5 separate regions of the Homo sapiens genome follow, and regions 1, 2, 3 and 4 are each linked to region 5. The links are contacts of gene promoters, found by promoter capture Hi-C in blood cells and fetal thymus (Javierre and others, 2016). All regions are on one chromosome and are shown on one strand. The core of a region is centred on a gene start or on the middle of the fragment in contact, and the rest is flanking DNA. Distances in the headings are between cores, read along the strand shown.

The links. The method cuts DNA at HindIII sites, captures the fragments that hold promoters and counts their contacts. A CHiCAGO score of 5 or more calls a contact.
Region 1: a contact is called between a fragment that was not itself captured here and the fragment with the promoter of ERICH5 in region 5, in 1 of 17 cell types (non-activated CD4 T cells). The highest score is 5.1, in non-activated CD4 T cells.
Region 2: a contact is called between a fragment that was not itself captured here and the fragment with the promoter of ERICH5 in region 5, in 3 of 17 cell types (total CD4 T cells, naive CD4 T cells and total CD8 T cells). The highest score is 6.6, in total CD4 T cells.
Region 3: a contact is called between a fragment that was not itself captured here and the fragment with the promoter of ERICH5 in region 5, in 5 of 17 cell types (naive CD8 T cells, activated CD4 T cells, total CD4 T cells and 2 more). The highest score is 7.8, in naive CD8 T cells.
Region 4: a contact is called between a fragment that was not itself captured here and the fragment with the promoter of ERICH5 in region 5, in 6 of 17 cell types (naive CD8 T cells, naive CD4 T cells, fetal thymus and 3 more). The highest score is 6.9, in naive CD8 T cells.

The regions. Positions count from the first base shown.
Region 1 is chr8:97,578,561-97,582,212 of GRCh38, forward strand. No RefSeq gene overlaps it. Among named protein-coding and RNA genes, the nearest start is that of MTDH, 64 kb to the right of the region's middle. The HindIII fragment of the contact is 4,555 bases long and covers 1-3,652 here.
Region 2 is chr8:97,648,230-97,651,819 of GRCh38, forward strand. All of the region lies in intron 1 of MTDH (metadherin), which reads left to right. Among named protein-coding and RNA genes, the nearest start is that of MTDH, 5.8 kb to the left of the region's middle. The HindIII fragment of the contact is 3,343 bases long and covers 1-3,078 here.
Region 3 is chr8:97,599,692-97,603,193 of GRCh38, forward strand. No RefSeq gene overlaps it. Among named protein-coding and RNA genes, the nearest start is that of MTDH, 43 kb to the right of the region's middle. The HindIII fragment of the contact is 4,447 bases long and covers 1-3,502 here.
Region 4 is chr8:97,731,088-97,734,644 of GRCh38, forward strand. No RefSeq gene overlaps it. Among named protein-coding and RNA genes, the nearest start is that of LAPTM4B, 43 kb to the right of the region's middle. The HindIII fragment of the contact is 5,398 bases long and covers 1-3,557 here.
Region 5 is chr8:98,062,681-98,066,613 of GRCh38, forward strand. ERICH5 (glutamate rich 5) reads left to right here and starts at 1,888. Exons shown (of 3, transcript NM_173549.3): 1 at 1,888-2,047. The coding sequence starts at 1,990. RefSeq lists a silencer at 1,929-2,028 and an enhancer at 2,269-2,328. The HindIII fragment of the contact is 8,700 bases long and covers 1-3,933 here.

The DNA of each region.
Region 1 (3,652 bases), core at 183-2,682, 480 kb before region 5:
AAGATATTTCAGGCTCATCCTGTGCTTCCCTACTCAAACCCTGTATCAGCCACTTCTCCAAGGGGTCCTGGATCCTTTTAGTGGAGAATGGTACTTAAAAATCAAGACCTCAGTGCTAGATTTGCTCATTGCTCTTGATGTGTACTACACTCAGGCCCTCAAAAGGAGCAAAGCTAGGGAGCATACATATGCACACGCATACACACACACACGTACACACACACACACACACATATCTATATTGATTCCCATATCTACCCATCTGTGTATACTGAAAACTATGAACTCACGGTAATATCTCCAATTCCAAACTCTAACAGTAGAGAGCTCATCAGTTTTCTCCCTTTCCATATTTTCACTTCCTTCTGTGACAGTGAGAAACTTTGCTCCTACTCTCCTCCATATCTTGACATATTGGAGCACTACTATATGTAATATCCCACCTTGTAGGCCCTGACACCCCCCTGCCAGGTTGCCCTCCCCTAGGCAGGCCCCTCTCACCCTATTCGGACTCCCACACCCAGCACCAGGCTGCTGATTCCCCTCATCTAAAGCCCTCCTCACCCCACCTGGCCTCTGATGCCACATGCTGGGCTACCATAGGAATGTGCATCCCACCTTGCTTGGTATCTGACACCCGTGCCAGGCCCCCATCAGCCCCTCGTGTGCATGCCTTTCTCACTCTGCATGGCTCCAACACCCCGCCCTGGTCTTCCTCCCTGCATGCCTCCGCACCTGAACTTGTTCAGACACTGATACCCTACCTTTTGTCACTGACCTGCCCAACCCCATCTAATAATGGCTTTTGAAATGGATTGTTCTGGAAGGAAACAGAAGGGAAAACAGATAAGAAAAAAGAATAGGACAACATTCTTCTTTAAATGCTAACTATGATTTCAAAGCTGTTTTTGAAAAATATTCTGTAAAAAGTGGTATGTCCCTTTTAAGTAAAGCTGTTTATAAAAGTTGTGTATTATTTAGGGACAACTCAAACAAACGAAATGCTATCATTTAAATTTAGGAACATGGAAGCAATATATAAGAAACTCAAGATGCAATAGTGGCTGAGAACAGAAATGTTTCCCTTTTTAGGTTATGTAGAAATTGGATTCTTTTTGTTCAGGAGAAAGGAGGTTTTGTTGTCATCAGAGTGAATGTGGGGTTGATCATCTGCAGTCTCTCTTTCTGCTTTGAAGAGAATACAGGGGAATCAGGGAAGGTGGCAGCCTCCCAAGACAGTAAGGAGGCTAGGAGGATACACTTAGGTTTACCTTTTATTAGCTTGGCTAATGCCACATGCAAATGAGGCATCCAGGCAGCTGGGAGAAGTGGAGGTGCCCAAAACTGGCCTGAAGTCCCAAAGTGTGTTCCTTCTTCAGGAGAGTCCTGACTCCAAGATAAGACTTTGAAGTGAATTATAAAGATTAGGACTGGTAGGCTGCGTGTGGTGGCTCATGCCTGTAATCCCAGAGCTTTGGGAAGTCAACACAGACAGACCACCTGAGCTCAAGAGTTCAACACCGGTCTGGGCAACATAGCAATACTCCGTCTCTACAAAAAATACAAAAATTAGCCAGGCACGGTGGTATGCACCTGTAGTCCCAGCTACTCAGGAGGCTGAGATGGGAGGATGGCTTGAACCCTGGAGGCAGAGGTTGCAGTGAGCCGAGATTGTACCATTGCACTCCAGCCTGGGTGACAGAGCGAGACCCTGTATCAAAAAATAAATAAATAAATAAAGAGTAGGACTAGCTATTTTATCAGGGTTACTTTACATCAGAACTGATAAAATATTAAAGACTGAATCCAACTATTAGGAAAGTTACCAAATTATACTATGGTGTTTCTTTTTTTTATGCTAGATATACGTTTAAATTTCTGCTTTCAGCCATGATAGACTAGATTACACCCAACCAACTCTTCTACCAGGAACAACTAGAAAAGTTGGATAAAATACAAAAGTCATTTGTTTAAAAGCATCAGAAAACTACAAAAATAGCCAGGAATTAAGAGCTCAAGATCCTGACTTTGAGTTCCCCCTGAAGCAGATCCCCAGGGAAGGATTTGAACATAAGGAGGTGATGTCAGGAAGCATTATTAGGGAAGTGAGGAAGAGAAACAAGAAAGATAAGACAGCCAAAAAAAGCTGGTTCTTAAACAAACTGCCACTGTGAGTAACTGGAGCTTGAGTCCACTGGGGAAATCAAGGAGACCTTTTTCCTCAGAGTTATCCCACCCAAAGGGCAAGGGGATCTGCGGCATTTATGATCCAATTGCATTTTATTGGGTCTTCTTGACCATGATAGCAAAACTAGATAATGATACTGCAAAAAAGAAAAATTGTAGGCCATTCTCTCTTATGAACATAGATGCAAAAATCTGAAACAAAATATGAGCCAATCAAATATGGCTATATGCTATATATCCCATCGAGACTGGGCTTATTCCAAGAACACAAGACTGGCCAGGCAAGGTGGCTGACGCCTGTAATCCCAATAATTTGGGAGGCTGAGGTGGGTGGATCACTTGAGCCCAGGACTTCAAGACTAGCCTGGGCAAAATAGCGATACTCTGTCTCTACAAATAATACAAAAATCAGCCAGGCATGGTGGTACGTGCCTGTAGTCCCAGCTACTCAGGACACTAAGGTGGGAGGATGGTTTGAGCCTGGGAGGCAGAGGCTGCAGTGAGCCGAGATCGCACCACTGCACTCCAGCCTGGGCAACAAAGCGATACCCTGTCTCAAAAACTAAAATAAAATAAAATTTAATTTAAAAATATATTTTTAAAAAAACAAAAGTGGAGCAAAAGGCTAATTTATACTTAAAAATCAATCAATGTGATTTTACCATATGAATAAAATAAAGGAGAAAATTATATGATCATCTACATAAGATGGTATTTAATATTCAGTGTGGATATTTATTAAATATTTCTCTCTTCTTCTGAGACAGGGTCTCACTCTGTCACCCAGGCTGGGGTACAGTGGTGTGATCTCGGCTCACTGCAGCCAGGACCCTTCAGGCTCAAGAGATCCTCCCATTTCAGCCTCCTGAATAGCTGGGACTACAGGCACATGCCACCACACCTAGTTATTTTTATTTTTTAAAAGAACAATATGTGTTCATTTCCACTCAGCTAATTGCATGGCTTATTTTAAATATAATAGGTAAAATGACCAGGGTACAAAAGTAGCACACATTAATTATAAAATCAAGTTTTAAGGGGCTTGGGTGGCCAGGTGTGGTGGCTCACACACACCTGTAAGCTCAGGAGTTCAAGACCAGCCTGGGCAACATGGCAAAACCTCATCTCTACAAAAAATACAAAAATTAGCCAGGCATCGTGGTGGGTACCTGTAATCCCAGATACTCAGTAGCCTGAGGTAGGAGGATCACTTGAGCCCAGGGAAGTCAAGGCTGCAGTGAGCCGAGATCGTGCCACTGCACTCCAGCCTGGATGACAGAGTGAGACCCTGTCTCAAAATAAATAAATAAATAAAAGGTTTGGGGGGACCTCTTGAACAGACAGATCTACATTGAGAATAATGACAATGACTATGAAAGAAAATGTGTATCTCTTATGAACCAGTGAGTTAAAACCAATTCTCAAGAGGTGACATATTAGAAAAGACTGAGAGAGGGCAAGACTC
Region 2 (3,590 bases), core at 157-2,656, 410 kb before region 5:
TTTTACTGGGCTCAGTTCTTGGCATTTTTTCTTTTCCCCCCCACCCCTGTTCCTGGCATTTTTGGAAATTATTATCTTGTATGTATTTTTCATGACATCTACCTCAAAGTCTGTATTAAATGGGCACTCAAGTATTTTTTCACTTGATTTTTAATCTGAGTAATGACTTAGATTGAAGTGAAGTCTGCGAAAACTGGTCTGTAACAATTGGCTTTGAATTTCAACTGGAAGCACATAATCAGGATTAATATCAAAGAAAATTGTCTTTTTTTTTTTTTTGAAACAGTCTTGCTCTATTGCCCATGCTGGAGTGCAGTGGCGGTTATAGCTCATAGCTCACTGCATCCTCAAACTCCTGGCCTCAAGCCATCCTCCCACTTTGGCCTCCCAAAATGTTGGGATTACAGGCATGAGCAACCTCACCCAGCTCAAAAATTTATTTTAGTGGACAAGTTATTTGCATATTAGTGTAGGAATGTTTATAAAGATTTGCTATAGTGTAATTGCCATATCTCTAAGCTCAATGAATAAAATAATAGTGTTTCCTTTTGTTTGCTACCAGATAGCCTTGCACAGTGCTTGGTACTCAAAAATAATTATTGAATGCATAATATAGTAAGATGTCCAACAAAAGTATTTATACAGCTTACTCCTATTATTCATGCTTGGTAAATACCTATGTGAGCCCCCTTTTTCTCTTTAAGTGGAAAGTGGCTGTTTGCCTCATCTGGCTGTAATTTTGTGAGGTGAAGCACTGCCTATATAATGACCCCATAAGATTATGATATTGTATTTTTACTATACCTTTTCTATGTTTAGATACACAAACACTTACCATTGTGTTACAGTTGCCACAGTATTCAGTACAGCAACATGCTGTACAGGTTTGTAGCCTAGGTTTGTGTCAGTATACTATGTGATGTTTGCACAAAGATGCATTTCTCAGAATGTATTCTCATTAAGCAGTGTATGACTGTATTCTAATAGTATGCAGTGTCTTTTGTAGTCATTACTTCTGTTCCAGTTTCACTGCCACTGCCCTACTTTAGGACTTTATTACCTTTTGTTTAGACTGTTCTAACATCATCCTAACTAGTTTTCCTGCTTCCAGTTTCTTTTTTGCCAATCTTTTCTACCCACTCGTGTGAGTAGAGTCTTTTGAAGCCCAACCCTGATCATGTGACTTTGATGTTCACATCCTTTCAGTAGTTTCCCCATCACCTGTTGAATAAAATGCAAAATTCATGACATGGCACTCGAGTCTCTTCATGATCTAACCCTACCTTAGGCTTGTCTCTCACCATTACTCCTAAGACAAGAAATAATTCTGCTTAGCTAGATTTCTGTGTCTCTTTATTTATGATTATTTTCATTTTTGTTGTTGTTGTTTTTGGAGACCAGAGTCTCACTTTGTCCCAGGCTGGAGTGCAGTGGTGTGAACACAGCTCACTGCAGCTTCCACTTCCCAGACTCAAGCATTCCTCCCACCTCAGCCCCTCGAGTGGCTGGGATTACAGGTGCACGATACCACACCTGGTTATTTTTGTACTTTTTGTAGAGATGGAGTTTCACCATGTTGCCCACGCATGGACTCAAACTCCTGAGCTCAGGCAGTCCACCTGCCTCAGCCTCCCAAAGTGCTGGGATTACAGGCATGAGCCACTGCCCCCGGCCATTATTTTTATCTATTAAAAGACCCTTCTTTCTATCTCTCTACCAATTTCTTTTCTTTTCTTTTCTTTTTGAAACGGAGTGTCACTCTGTCGCCCAGGCTGGAGTGCAGTGGTGCGATCTCAGCTCACTGCAAACTCCACCTCCCGGGTTCACGCACGTTCTCCTGCCTCAGCCTCCTGAGTAGCTGGGACTACAGGCGCCCACCACCATGCCCAGCTAATTTTTTGTATTTTTAGTGGAGATGGGGTTTCACCGTGTTAGCCAGGATGGTCTCGATTTCCTGACCTCGTGATCCGCCTGCCTCAGCCTCCCAAAGTGCTGGGATTACAGGCATGAGCCACCAGGCCCGGCCAGTTTCTTTTCTTATTTTTATTTTTAAATTTCTTTTCGAAACAGGGTCTGGCTGTGTCAACCAGGCTGGAGTGCAGTGGCGTAATCTTGGCTCACTGCAACCTCAACCTCCCAGGCTCAAGCGACTCTCCCACCTCAGCCTCCTGAGTAGCTGGGACTACAGACGCACACCACCATGCCCAGCTAATTTTTGAATTTTTTGTAGAGATGGCGTTTTGCTATGTTGCCTAGACTGGTCTTGAACTGCTAAGCTCAAGTACTCCACCTGCCTAGGCCTCCCAAAGTGCTGGAATTACAAGCGTTAGTCACTGTGCCCAGCCTCTCTCTACCAATTTCCACCTGTCCTTCAAGGCCCAGCTGCAGTGCTGCTTCAACTGTAAAGCCTTCCCTAGCTCCTCAGCTAGAGTTATATATTGTAACACCTAGCATAATGTTTCGTGTTTAGTGGAAACTATGGAATTGCCTTTTAAAAATTTATTTATTTATTTATTTTTTGAGCTGGGGTCTCACTGTCACCCACGCTGGAGTGCAGTGGTGTGATCTTGGCTCTCTGCAACCTCCGCCTCTCAGGCTCAAGCGATCCTCCCACCTCAGCCTCCCGACTACCTGGGACCACAGGCACACACCACCACACCTGGCTATGCCATATTGTTTAGATTAGAATGGTCTAATATCACCATTTCATTTGGTTCTAATAGTCATTCAGCAAGTATCTGAGTGTCTGCCCATTATCCATATTAGGAGCACAAAACGCATTACTAGTGGTCACACACATAAAAGGTATGTTATAAATAGTACTGGAACAGATCAGCATAGTTGATTTTCTTTATCTGCAGAAGTTCTATAAAGTTCCCACTGAATTAGCAAGTACTAAACTAGTGCTCCTAGGGAAAGTGCAAAATTAGGTCCAAGCCTCTGGTCACAATATTTTCACCAATACCATATACAATACATGGTCTTGTTTTATGAGTGTTTCTGTTTAAAGACATTTAATTTAATTGATTCATATCATTGAACTCACGGCCAATAGCACTAGAACTCATGCCTGAACAAAGCTTATCTAATGCATTATTTTCTTTGTAAGGTATATCACAGCCTTCTTATGCTTAGGAATGCTCAGCAGCACTTCAGCACTACAGTTGGGGACCATTATAAACAGCAAAATCACTAACAAAAAGCACCCAAAAAATGCAAAATATGTGACACTAAATAGTCCTCAGAAAGGATACTTATTTACAGTGATGAGAGCTGAAATAAGAAGGTGGAGGCTTGACCTCAGCTGGGAATGTGCCTGCAGAGTGACTTTGCAGCTCTGTGCATGTGCGTGTCCAGAAATGACCGTGAAAGTACCTCAAGTATTGATTTTGGAGTAACAAATAAATTTTAGTGAAAAGATAAATTCACCAATACAGAATCCATTAATAATGGGGAACAACTGTATATTAGTCCCTATCTGTATCTAGACTGTTCTGTCATCTCCAGAACCTCATGTCTACATGTATGCTTGATTTCTCTGATTGGGAGTCTGATACGTATCTCAAACTTTTTAAAAATTATCTCAAACT
Region 3 (3,502 bases), core at 846-3,345, 460 kb before region 5:
CTACTTAGAGAACAAAGTATATACATAAAATCACTCATAGGAAATTTTGATCACCACCATAAGACAGGGGGAGAAAAGCAAAATAAGATAAATAAAAAAGAAAAAAGATTTTAAAGAAAATTTTGAGGCCAGACATGGTGGCTCTTGCCTGTAACCCCAGCACTTCGGGACGCCAAGGCAGGCAGATCGCTTGAGCTCAGGAGTTGGAGACCAGCCTGACCAACATGGTGAAACCCCTTCTCCACCAAAAAAAAAAAAAGAAAAGAAAAGAAAATGTTGAAAGCAACATAATAAACAAGTATAACAATGGGGATTGTTTGTTTTTCATGACCTTTACGACTTGGTTGTCAGGTGAAATACAGGACCACCAGTTAAACTTGAATTTCATAAACAACAAATAATTTTTAGGTTATGTATAGCATGTCTCATGCTAAAAAAGAAAAAAAGTATTCATCATGTATCTGAAATTCAAGTTTAACTGGGCATCTTGTATTATTCTTTGCTAAATTCTGCAGCTCTAAACTTGAGGCATGTGCATTACAAAAAGGATCTTGACAGAGTGGAGTTCATCAAATGAGCTTCCTGGAGAATGTGAGCTTTCAGCCAACTGCTGAGGAAAGCAGTGGCTGGAAACAGAAGACATTCCACATGTGGCCAGTGCATGTTGATGGCACTGAAACCGAGATGAGCAAGTAATTCCTGGCCATGGCAGCAACCAGATCAGCTTTGCAGGAGGGACACAGATGGATAAAAGAACTGAAAACCAGCAATGGGAGTGATCAGTCATCACTGGATTTATTTCTATGGAGTTTGTTTAAAGGCTATTTTCCAATCAATGAGAACTTATTCTTCACTATTTCCTCCATATAAGCAAGGACTACAGGCTTTATTGGTTGGGACTCACAGGATTTAAAGTGTAGAGGGGCCAGGCACGGTGGATCATGCCTGTAATCCCAACACTTTGGGAGGCCAAGGCAGGCAGATCACCTGAGGTCAGGAGTTCGAGACCAGCCTGGCCAACATGGTGAAACCCTGTCCCTACAAAAAAAAAAAAAAAAAAAAAAAAAAATGTATATATATATATATACACACACACACACACAAAAAAAAAATAGCCTGGTGTGGTGTTATGTGCCTGTAATCCCAACTACTCAGGAGGCTGAGGCAGGAGAATAGCTGGAACCCAGGAGGCGGAAGTTGTAGTGAGCTGAGATCGTGCCACTGCACTCCAGGCTGGACAACAGAGCACGACTCTGTCTCAAAAAATAAATAAATAAAGTGTAGAAGTATTTATCTCTAAGGTATGTACATGGGCATTACAAGTGGAGTTTTGTAAGTACACATCTTAAAGATCAAAAATGTCTTTGAGATAGGTACCTTTGGGGAAGAAAAATAAATGTCTTTGAGAGAGAGAGTTATTCCAACTGGCTTCCAACAGTAGGGTTCTGGTATCTGGCAGGTCTTTGTTGCATGGTGCTCAGCAGGGTTGGAGGGAAGAGAATGAGTGAGACTTTACATGCTCTGTACAATGAAAAGAGCAAGCATGAGAGTGAGGAGCTTGTAGTCTAAAGATTGTTCCTGTTGGTGTAGAGAAGGGTTCTGGGGAGAAGTGAAATAATTACAGAAATAATGAAATTAAACTTTTTGTCCTGCTTTCAAATTTTCTGTGTCTAACAGCCCTGTTTCTAGAAATTGATCAAAACCATACACTGGCAAAACTAAAATTAGATATATGCACAAAGCTACTCATTGTAGCACTATTTGCAACAACAACAAACAACTGGGAATAATCTAAATGTCCTTGAATACGGGACTAGGTGAGTAAAACATGGGGCATCCAAACAGTGGAGGACTCCACAGCTGTCAAAGGGAGAGGAGGTCGGGGGAGAAAGGAAAAAAAGCGGGGGAGAGGATACGTTGTTAAGTGAAGAAAGCCAGATCTAGGACAGTGTGTATAGCATGCTCCAGCTACATATAAGAACTGAGTCTAGGCCGGGTGCAGTGGCTCACACCTATAATCCAAGCACTTTGGGAGGCCAAGGCAGGCGGATGACCTGAGGTCAGGAGTTCAAAACCAGCCTGGCCAATATGAAACCCCGTCTCTACTAAAAACACAAAAATTAGCTGGGCATTGTGGCGGGTGCCTGTAATCCCAGTCACTCAGGAGGCTGAGGCAGGAGAATCACGTGAACAGGGAGGTGGAGGTTGCAGTGAGCCGAGCTCATGCTATTGCACTCCAGCCTGGGCGACAAGAGAGAAACTCCGTCTCAAAAAAAAAAAAAAAAAAAAAAAGAACTGAGTCTACAAATTTGTTTATATTTCACACATTTGTATGATTATATTTCTATATTTTTAAAACAAAACTAAAGGATAATTATAAAACAAAAAATCATAACGCTCACCTCTCGGGGAGGGAGGAAATACGGTAGAGAAAAAAGAGACAGAAGGCTGGGCATGGTGGCTCATGCCTGTAATCCCAGCACTTTGGGAGGCCGAGGTGGGAGGATCACCTGAGGTCAGGAGTTCGAGACCAGCCTGAGCAACATGGTGAAACGGGCCTCTGCTAAAAATACCAGAATTAGCTAGGTGTGGTGGTGGGTGCCTATAATCCCAGCTACTCAGGAGGCTGAGGCAGAAGAATCACTTGAACCCAGGAGGTGGAGGTTGCAGTGAGCCAAGATTGCAGCACTGCACTCCAGCCTGGGTGACAGAGCAAGACTCTGTCAGAAAGAAAGACAAAAGAGAAAGAGAGAAAGAGAGAAAGAAAGAAAGGAAGAAAGAAAGAGAGAGAAAGGAAGGAAGGAAGGTAGACTTTGTGTGTGTGTGTGTGTGTGTGTGTGTGTGTGTGTGAGACAGTCTTACTCTATAGCCCAGGCTGGAGTGCAGTGGTGCAATATTGGCTCATTGCAGCCTGTACCTCCCTGGGCTCAAGTGATCCTCCCACCTCAGCCTCTCAAGTAGCTGGGACCACAGGCTCATGCCACGATGCCTGGCTAATTTTTGTATTCTTTATAGGGATGGGGTTTTGCCATAATGCCAGGCTGGTCTCAAACTCCTGGGCTTAAGCAATCCACCCACCTCGGGCTCCCAAAGTGCTGGGATGACAGGTGTGTGCCACCATGCCTGGCTACACTTCTTAAAATGTGCCTCATTGGGTAGATATAACTTTGGGATCATGTAATTATTTAAATAATTTATCATTAAATTATGAAAAAGCAATCCTCAAAATCAAAAAATAAAAGGAAACAAATGAACATGTATATCCAGTTGGTGGCATAACACCAAAGAGGAACCACTTTAAGTGATTTAAAACACAGTAATTTACGGGCATTCCCAATGGGATATACTGTAAGGATAAAAAGAACTGTGAAAAAATAATTTTAAAAATCGTAAAATTATTTCAGAGTTTGTGATGTTGGTATCGGAGATTGATGTATAACTTGGGACAAAGCAAATGAGTAATTATATGATGTTCATTCTCTCATACCCAGAGTCACTGAGA
Region 4 (3,557 bases), core at 440-2,939, 330 kb before region 5:
AAGCGTTGAGATTACAGGCATGAGCCACTGGGTCTGGCCCATTTTTTTTTTTAACAGACAGGAGCTTCCTCTGTCTACCAGGCTGGAGTGCAGTGGCACAATCACGGCTCACTGCAGCCTCAAACTCCTGGGCTCAAGCAATCCTCCTGCCTCAGCCTCCTGAGTAGCTGGGACTACAAGCACCCACCATCACACCTGGATAATCCTATCTTTTATAGAGACAGGGTCTTGCTTTGTTGCCCAGGCCGGTCCCAAACTTCTGGGCTCAAGCAATCCGCCCACCTCAGCCTCAAACTGCTGAGATTAACAGGCATAAGCCACTGTGCGCAGCCTGAATTTTTTAAAAACACCTCAAAGATCATGAAAATAAATAATTTAGGCCAGGAGCGGTGGCTCACACCTGCAATCCTAGCACTTTGGGAGATCAAGGCAGGAGGATCACCTGAGGTCAGGAGTTCAAGACCAGCCTGGCCAACATGGTGTAACTCCATCTCTACTAAAATACAAAAATTAGCTGGGCATGGTGGTGGGTGCCTGTAATCCCAGCTACTCGGGAGGCTGAGACGGGAGAATCGTTTGAACCTGGGAGACAGTGGTTGCAGTGAGCCAAGATGGTGCCACTGCACTCCAGCCTGGGTGGCTGAGCGAGACTTCGTCTCAAAAATAAATAAACAATCTGAGAAAGATCAAGTAAGGAAAAAATAGTGGGCAGTGGTGGGAAGGAGCAGAGGGCTAGACTTAGGAATAAAATAGTGGAATAAAATATAAAACAGCTTGCCTCAGTAAGTATTCTTTGTTCTAAAACCCAGAATCTGCTCTGGCAAGTTCAAGCTGAAAAGGAATCTAGCAGGACCAGAGATCCAGGCCCTTTCACCATCAAGAATAACACCTAAGACCAGGTGCGGTGACTCACTCCTGTAATCCCAGCACTTTGGGAGGCCGAGGCAGGTGGATCACCTGAGGTCAGGATTTCGAGACCAGCCTGGCCGACATGGCGAAACCCCATCTCTACTAAAAATATGAAAATTAGCCAGGTGTCTGGCATATGCCTGTTATCCCAGCTACTCAGGAGCTGAAGCGGGAGAATCACTTGAACCCAGGAGGTGGAGGTCGCAGTGAGCCGAGATCACGCCACTGCACTCCAGCCTGGGCGACAGAGCGAGACTCTGTCTCAAAAAGAAAAAAAAGGAAAGAAAAGATGGGGCCGGGCGCGGTGGCTTACGCCTGTAATCCCAGCACTTTGGGAGGCCGAGGCAGGCAAATCACGAGGTCAGGAGTTCGAGACCAGCCTGGCCAACATGAAACTACCCCTCTACTAAAAATACAAAAAATTAGCTGGGCATAGTGGCAGGCGCCTGTAACCCCAGCTACTCGGGAGGCTGAGGCAGGAGAATCGCTTGAACCTGGGAGGCAGAGGTTGCAGTGAGCCTAAATCTCACCATTACACTCCAGCCTGGGCAACAGAGTGAGACTCTACCTCAAAAAAAAAAAAAAAAAAAAAGAAAAGAAAAGAAAAGAAAAAGAAAAAATGGGCCAGGTGCGGTAGCTCACGCCTGTAATCACAGCACTTTGGGAGGCCAAGGCAGCCAGATCACGAGGTCGGCAGTTTGAGACCAGCCTGGGCAACATGCAAAACCCTGTCTCTACAAAAAATAAAAACATTAGCCAGACGTGGTGGGGTGTGCCTGCAGTCCCAGCCACTCAGGAGGCTGAGGCACGAGAATCACTTGAACCCAGGAGGCGGAGGTTGCGGTGAGCCGAGATCACGCCACTGCATTCCAGCCTGGGTGACAGAGCAAGACTGTCTCAAAAAAAAAAAAAAAAAAGGAAAAGAAAAGATGGCCATATTTAACTGTATACAATTTTTTAATTATTATTATTATTATTTGAGAAGAAGTCTCGCTCTGTCGCCCAGGTTGCAGTGCAGTGGCGCAACCTCGGCTCACTGCAACTTCCACCTCCTGGGTTCAAGGGATTCTCCTGCCTCAGCCTCCTGAGTAGCTGAGATTACAGGTGCCAGCCACCAACACCTGACTAATTCTTGTATTTTAGTAGAGATGGGGTTTCACCATGTTGGCCAGGCTGGTCTCAAACTGCTGGCCTCATGTGATCCACTCACCTTGACCTCCCAAAGTGCTGGGATAATAGGCGTGAGCCACCATGCTTGGCAATTTTTTTTTTTTTTTTTTTGGAGACAGAGTCTCACTCTATCTCCCAGGCTGGAGTGCAGTGGCACGATCTCAGCTTACTGCAACCTCTGCCTCCCGGGTTCAAGCAATTCTCCTGCCTCAGCCTCCTGAGTAGCTGGAATTACAGGCGTGCACTACCACACCCAGCTAATTTTTGTATTTTTAGTAGAGACGGGGTTTCACCATGTTGGTCAGACTGGTCTCGGACACCTGACCTCATGATTTGCCCTCCTCAGCCTCCCAAAGTGCTGGGATTAAGATGTGAGCCACCACGCCCGGCCATGCCCAGCAATTTTTTATAAACTTTTAAAATGTTTTATTTTGAAAACATTAGAGGCCAGGCACTCCATTGCTCTCCAGCCTGGGTGACAGACTAAGACTCTGTCTCAAAAAATAAGTAAGTAAATAACATAAAATAAAATAAATAAAATAGAATGTGCAACACCTTTGATAGATTACAAGCTAATACTTTCTAGAATACATAAAGATAACTGACAAAGGGGAAACAACACAAGAGAAAAATAAGCAGATGAGAATAAGCAGTCCAAGAATAAACAATACAAAATGTTCATCAAACATATTTTTAAATGTTTAAACTTACTAGTACCAAGAAAATACAAATTAAAGTTAGAATGAGCCAGCTACCACTTCATGCCCATCAGACTGGCCAGAGTTTCTAAAAAAAAAAGCTGTAACTCCAGCTGCTAATAGGCATACAGAGAAAGTGTATTCATTCACTGCAAGTGGCAGGATAAATTACTACAATCCTTTGGGAGTGCAATCAGCTACCCTTTTTTTTTTTTTTTTTTTTTTTTTTTTTTTTGTTAAGATGGAGTCTCGCCTGTCGCCCAGGCTGGAGTACAATTGCAAGATCTCAGCTCACTGCAACCTCCACCTCCAGGGTTCAAACGATTCTCCTGCCTCAGCCTCCCGAGTAACTGGGATTACAGGCACCCGCCACCACACCTGGCTAATTTTTGTATTTTTAGTAGAGATGGGGTTTCACCATGTTGGCCAGGCTGGTCTTGAACTCCTGGCCTCAGGTGATCCGCGTGCCTCAGCCTCCCAAAATGCTGGGATTACAGGCGTGAGCCAACGTGCCTGGCCTAATCAGCTACCATTTTAAAAATTAAAAGTAAGGCTGGACACAGTGGCTCACACCTATTATCCCAGTGCTTTGGGAGGCCTAGGCGAGTGGATCACCTGAGGCCAGGAGTTCAAGACCAGCCTGGCCAACATGGAGAAACTCCATCTCTACTAAAATACAATTAGCCGGGTGTGGTGGTGCATGCCTGTACTCCCAGCTACTTTCGAGGCTGAGGCAGGGGCATCACTTAAATCTGGGAGGTAGAGGTTGCAGTGAGCGGA
Region 5 (3,933 bases), core at 638-3,137:
ATGTAAGTGAATAAATGGGGGGAAGGAAAAGCACTTCCTTACTTTGTAGTAGAATGGCAGCTAATCAATATAGAAGGAATAATGTAATTAGAAAATCACAGGCACACTGTCTCATGCCTGTAATCCCAGCACTTTGGGGAGGCAAAGGGAAGAGGATCCCCTGAGGTAAGGAGTTCAAGACCAGCCTGGGCAACATGGCAAGACTCCTGTCTCTATAAAAAAATTTTTTTTGGATGGAATCTTGCTCTGTCACCCAGGCTGGAGGGCAGGCTTGGCTCACTGAAAACTGCACCTCCCGGGTTCAAGAGATTCTCCTGCCTCAGCCTCTCAAAGTGCTGGAATTACAGGCATGAGCCACCGCGCCCAGCCTCTTTCTCTCTAAAAAAAGGCCTGGCCAGGCGCGATGGCTCATGCCTGTAATCCCAGCACTTTGGGAGGCTGACGCAGGCGGATCACCTGAGGTCGGGAGTTCGAGACCAGCCTTACCAACATGAAGAAACCCCATCTCTACTAAAAATACAAGATTAGCAGGGTGTGGTGGCGCATGCATGTAATCCCAGCTACTCAGGAGGCTTAGGCAGGAGAATTGCTTGAACCCAGGAGGCGAAAGTTGTGGTGAGCTGAGATTGTGCCATTGCACTCCAGCCTGGGCAACAAGAATGAAACCGTGTCTCAAATTAAAAAAAAAAAAAGCCTGTTCTCACCGGGTGCGGTGGCTGACATGTGTAATCCCAGCACTTTGGGAGTCCCACGCGGGCGGATCACCTGCGATCAGGAGTTCAAGACCAGCCTGGCCAACATGGTGAAACGCCGTCTCTACTAAAAAATACAAAAAATAGCCAGACGTGGTGGCGCATGCCTGTAATTCCAGCTACTCAGGAGGCTGAAGCAGGGAGAGTTTCTTGAACCAGGGAGGTGGAGGTTGCAGTGAGCTGAGATCTCGCCACTACACTCCAGTCTTGGTGACACAGTGAGACTCCATCTCCGGAAAAAAAAAAAAAAAAAAAAAGGCCGAGCGCAGTGGCTCATGCCTGTAATCCCAGCACTTTGAGAGGCCGAAGCGGGTGGATCACCTGAGGTCAGGAGTTCGAAACCAGCCTGACCAATATGGTGAAACCCCGTCTCTACTAAAATTACAAAAATTAGCTGGGCACGGTGGCAGGCGCCTGTAATCCCAGCTGCTCTGGAGGCTGAGGCTGGAGAATCGCTTGAACCCGGGAGGCAGAGGTTGCAGTGAGCCGAGATTGCGCCACTACACTCCAGCCTGGGCAACAGAGAGAGACTCGGTTTCAAAAAAAAAAAAAAATCTATTCTCTTAATAAATGTCAAAGTCATAACGACAAAGCAAGACTGGAGGAACTACTTCAGATTAAAGCAAACTAAAGAGAGACACAACTAAATGCAACGTGCAGTCCTGGATTGGACAATTGGCAAAAAGGGAACATGGAGGGTGGATTAAATCGTACTGTATCAAAGTTAAACTTCCTTGTGGTAATTGTAGTTATGTAAGAAAATAAGACTGTCATCGCACATCTAGTCTACCAATCAATAGCCCCTAGTCCCAAGGCCGCCTCGCCTCCCTGGCTATTTAGTGATGAGTCAGATGATACCTCCCAGCGCTTCGCCCTCGCCCCCTGACATCCTCCCTATCCCTGCTTTAGGGGCTTTTCCTCTCTTACTGTGCCATACCCTCCACCGTCTCCCCTCCTGTCTCCTGGGCTCTACTCCTCCCTGCCCTCCTCTGCGTCCTGGCCCTCCCGCTCTCTTCCGCTTTGCGCTCCCAGGCTCCTTCCACCTCCTGCCAGCTCCCTTCCTCCTCCAGGTGCGCACCCCCTACCATTAGCCCCGCTGCGCGCTTGCGCTCTACGCCCAAGGGAGCCGGGCTGCAGAGCTGGAGAAACTTCCGCGGCTACGGGTGCAGTTGCCTTCGGTTCCCGGTTCCGGGCCGACACCCGCGCAGGGCTGAGACAGGTGTCTGCGCTCCCCGCAATGGGCTGCTCCAGCAGCGCCCTCAACAAGGCCGGCGACAGCAGCAGGTTCCCCAGCGGTGAGCAGGGTACCGGCGCCGCCCGCGCCCGGGCTGGGGACTCGGGTGGGCTAACTCCCCAGGAGGTCCAAAGGGTGTGTCCCGTGGCCACCCCGCCTGGCAGGAGCCGGGCCTTGTCCCGGAGGATGCGAGCAGAACCCGGGACAAAGCGCGATTTCCTTCCAAATCTGGAGCGGCGCTGCTGTGACCGCGGGTGCGGCGGCCCTGGTGCGCTCCGCGGCGCTCGCTGCGAGACGCGCGGGGCCCGAGGCCGGGCGCTGGATTCACCCTGTCCGCTGATGGGATCTCGGGGAGTTGGTGTTGAGGCCCTAAGGCGGTTAGCCTCGGCATTGCCTTAAACACAGGAGAAATGTCCTATCAAGGCCTTCTACCAAGGCTGGGGGCGGTGGCTGACGACTGCAATCTCAGCACTTTGGGAGGCTGAGGCGGGACGATCTCTTGAGACCAGAAGTTCGAGAAAAACCTGGGTAACAAAGCGAGATCTTCCGCTCCCCCGTCTCTACTAAAACACCAACAAAAAAGACTTTTCCCCATTTACCCTCCCATTAGCGTTTCAGCATCAAAGATGGCAAAAGATGCGGAGAATCCAGAGGAGCATTCACTCCATCAAATGGGTCCCTGCACTCTGAATAGGTCAGACACACTTTCCCCTATCTTCGGCTTAAGTATCAGTTGAGAAGTATGTGTGATCAAAAGTGGTCATCACTGACTCTTGCTGAAGAAACTCAACAAGGACATTTTGAGCATCTGCTATATAATACCCCAGTGCTTGGCTAGATGCTGGAGATACAAGTGACCCTGTTTGTAGAGATTGAAGATAGAAGAGACAGAAAAGAAACACGTGAAACAATTGGCTAAGATCGTTTCTGACAGTGATAAGTACTGTGAAAAGTATAAACGCAGTTACATGAATTAGAGAATGACAGGGTTTTACAGCCGACTCACTTTTCTTAGATTTTGAATGGCTAAAATTTTGGACAATGCTATGGAGGTTAAGCAAACTCCGTCAAGCTAGTTTACAGTCTTCTGCAAGGCGAACTTTAGCGGGGATTTTGTACTGGAGTGAATTCCTTTTCACAGATTTTCTCTTAGCACCTTGTGTTATTGCAGTAACAGAAATGTCTTCCTCTGATGTTGTTGGTAGAGCGCACCAGACGGTGAGGAATGCTTTTCAAAGCTCAGCCGCTGTGTCCTAGTCAGAAATATGTTGTGTTGCTGTTATTTTTGTGGTGTATGAGAATTTATTTCTAGTTTCCATAGATAACGGAAAGCAATGACAAGTCAGGAAGTAAACAAAAAATTAAAAGCATTATAAAAGTAAACCCCTTCTCACTGACAACAATGTGAAAAGATGGAAAAATTCATTTCTAATGCACAGTGCTCACTAACTTTTCTCCTAAAGAACCCAGAGCTTCCATACCTGCAACAAGAGGACAGAGCAAGGAGTTTCTCCGATGTTTCGATGTTTCGTGTTTTATGTTATGAAATTAAGTAGAGTTTTGCATTCTGTTCTATGATAGATTTTTGTGGGTTTCAATATGAAAAGCCGAGGGAAAACAGATGCTTCAGGAAGATACATTTTATTATTCTGACTTCTCTACCCCATGCTGTGCTTCAGTTATCCTAGGAGTAGCATCCTGGTTTAACAAGCAGAGTACTGAGTCACCATTACATAGTTTTAAACTGATTAAAACATGTATTTCAGGGAATGTAACTTTGGGGCAAAAGTATTCAGTAGGTGGAATGCAGTTTTTAATCCTCTCAGAAAATAATGAATAACTTTATCTTTAAAAATATTTTATCATCAATATTAATAACTATTCCACGTGAGTTACACTCTTCCATTTTTTATTCTTGCTTTCATTGCTGTTCTGAGTTTTCATAGG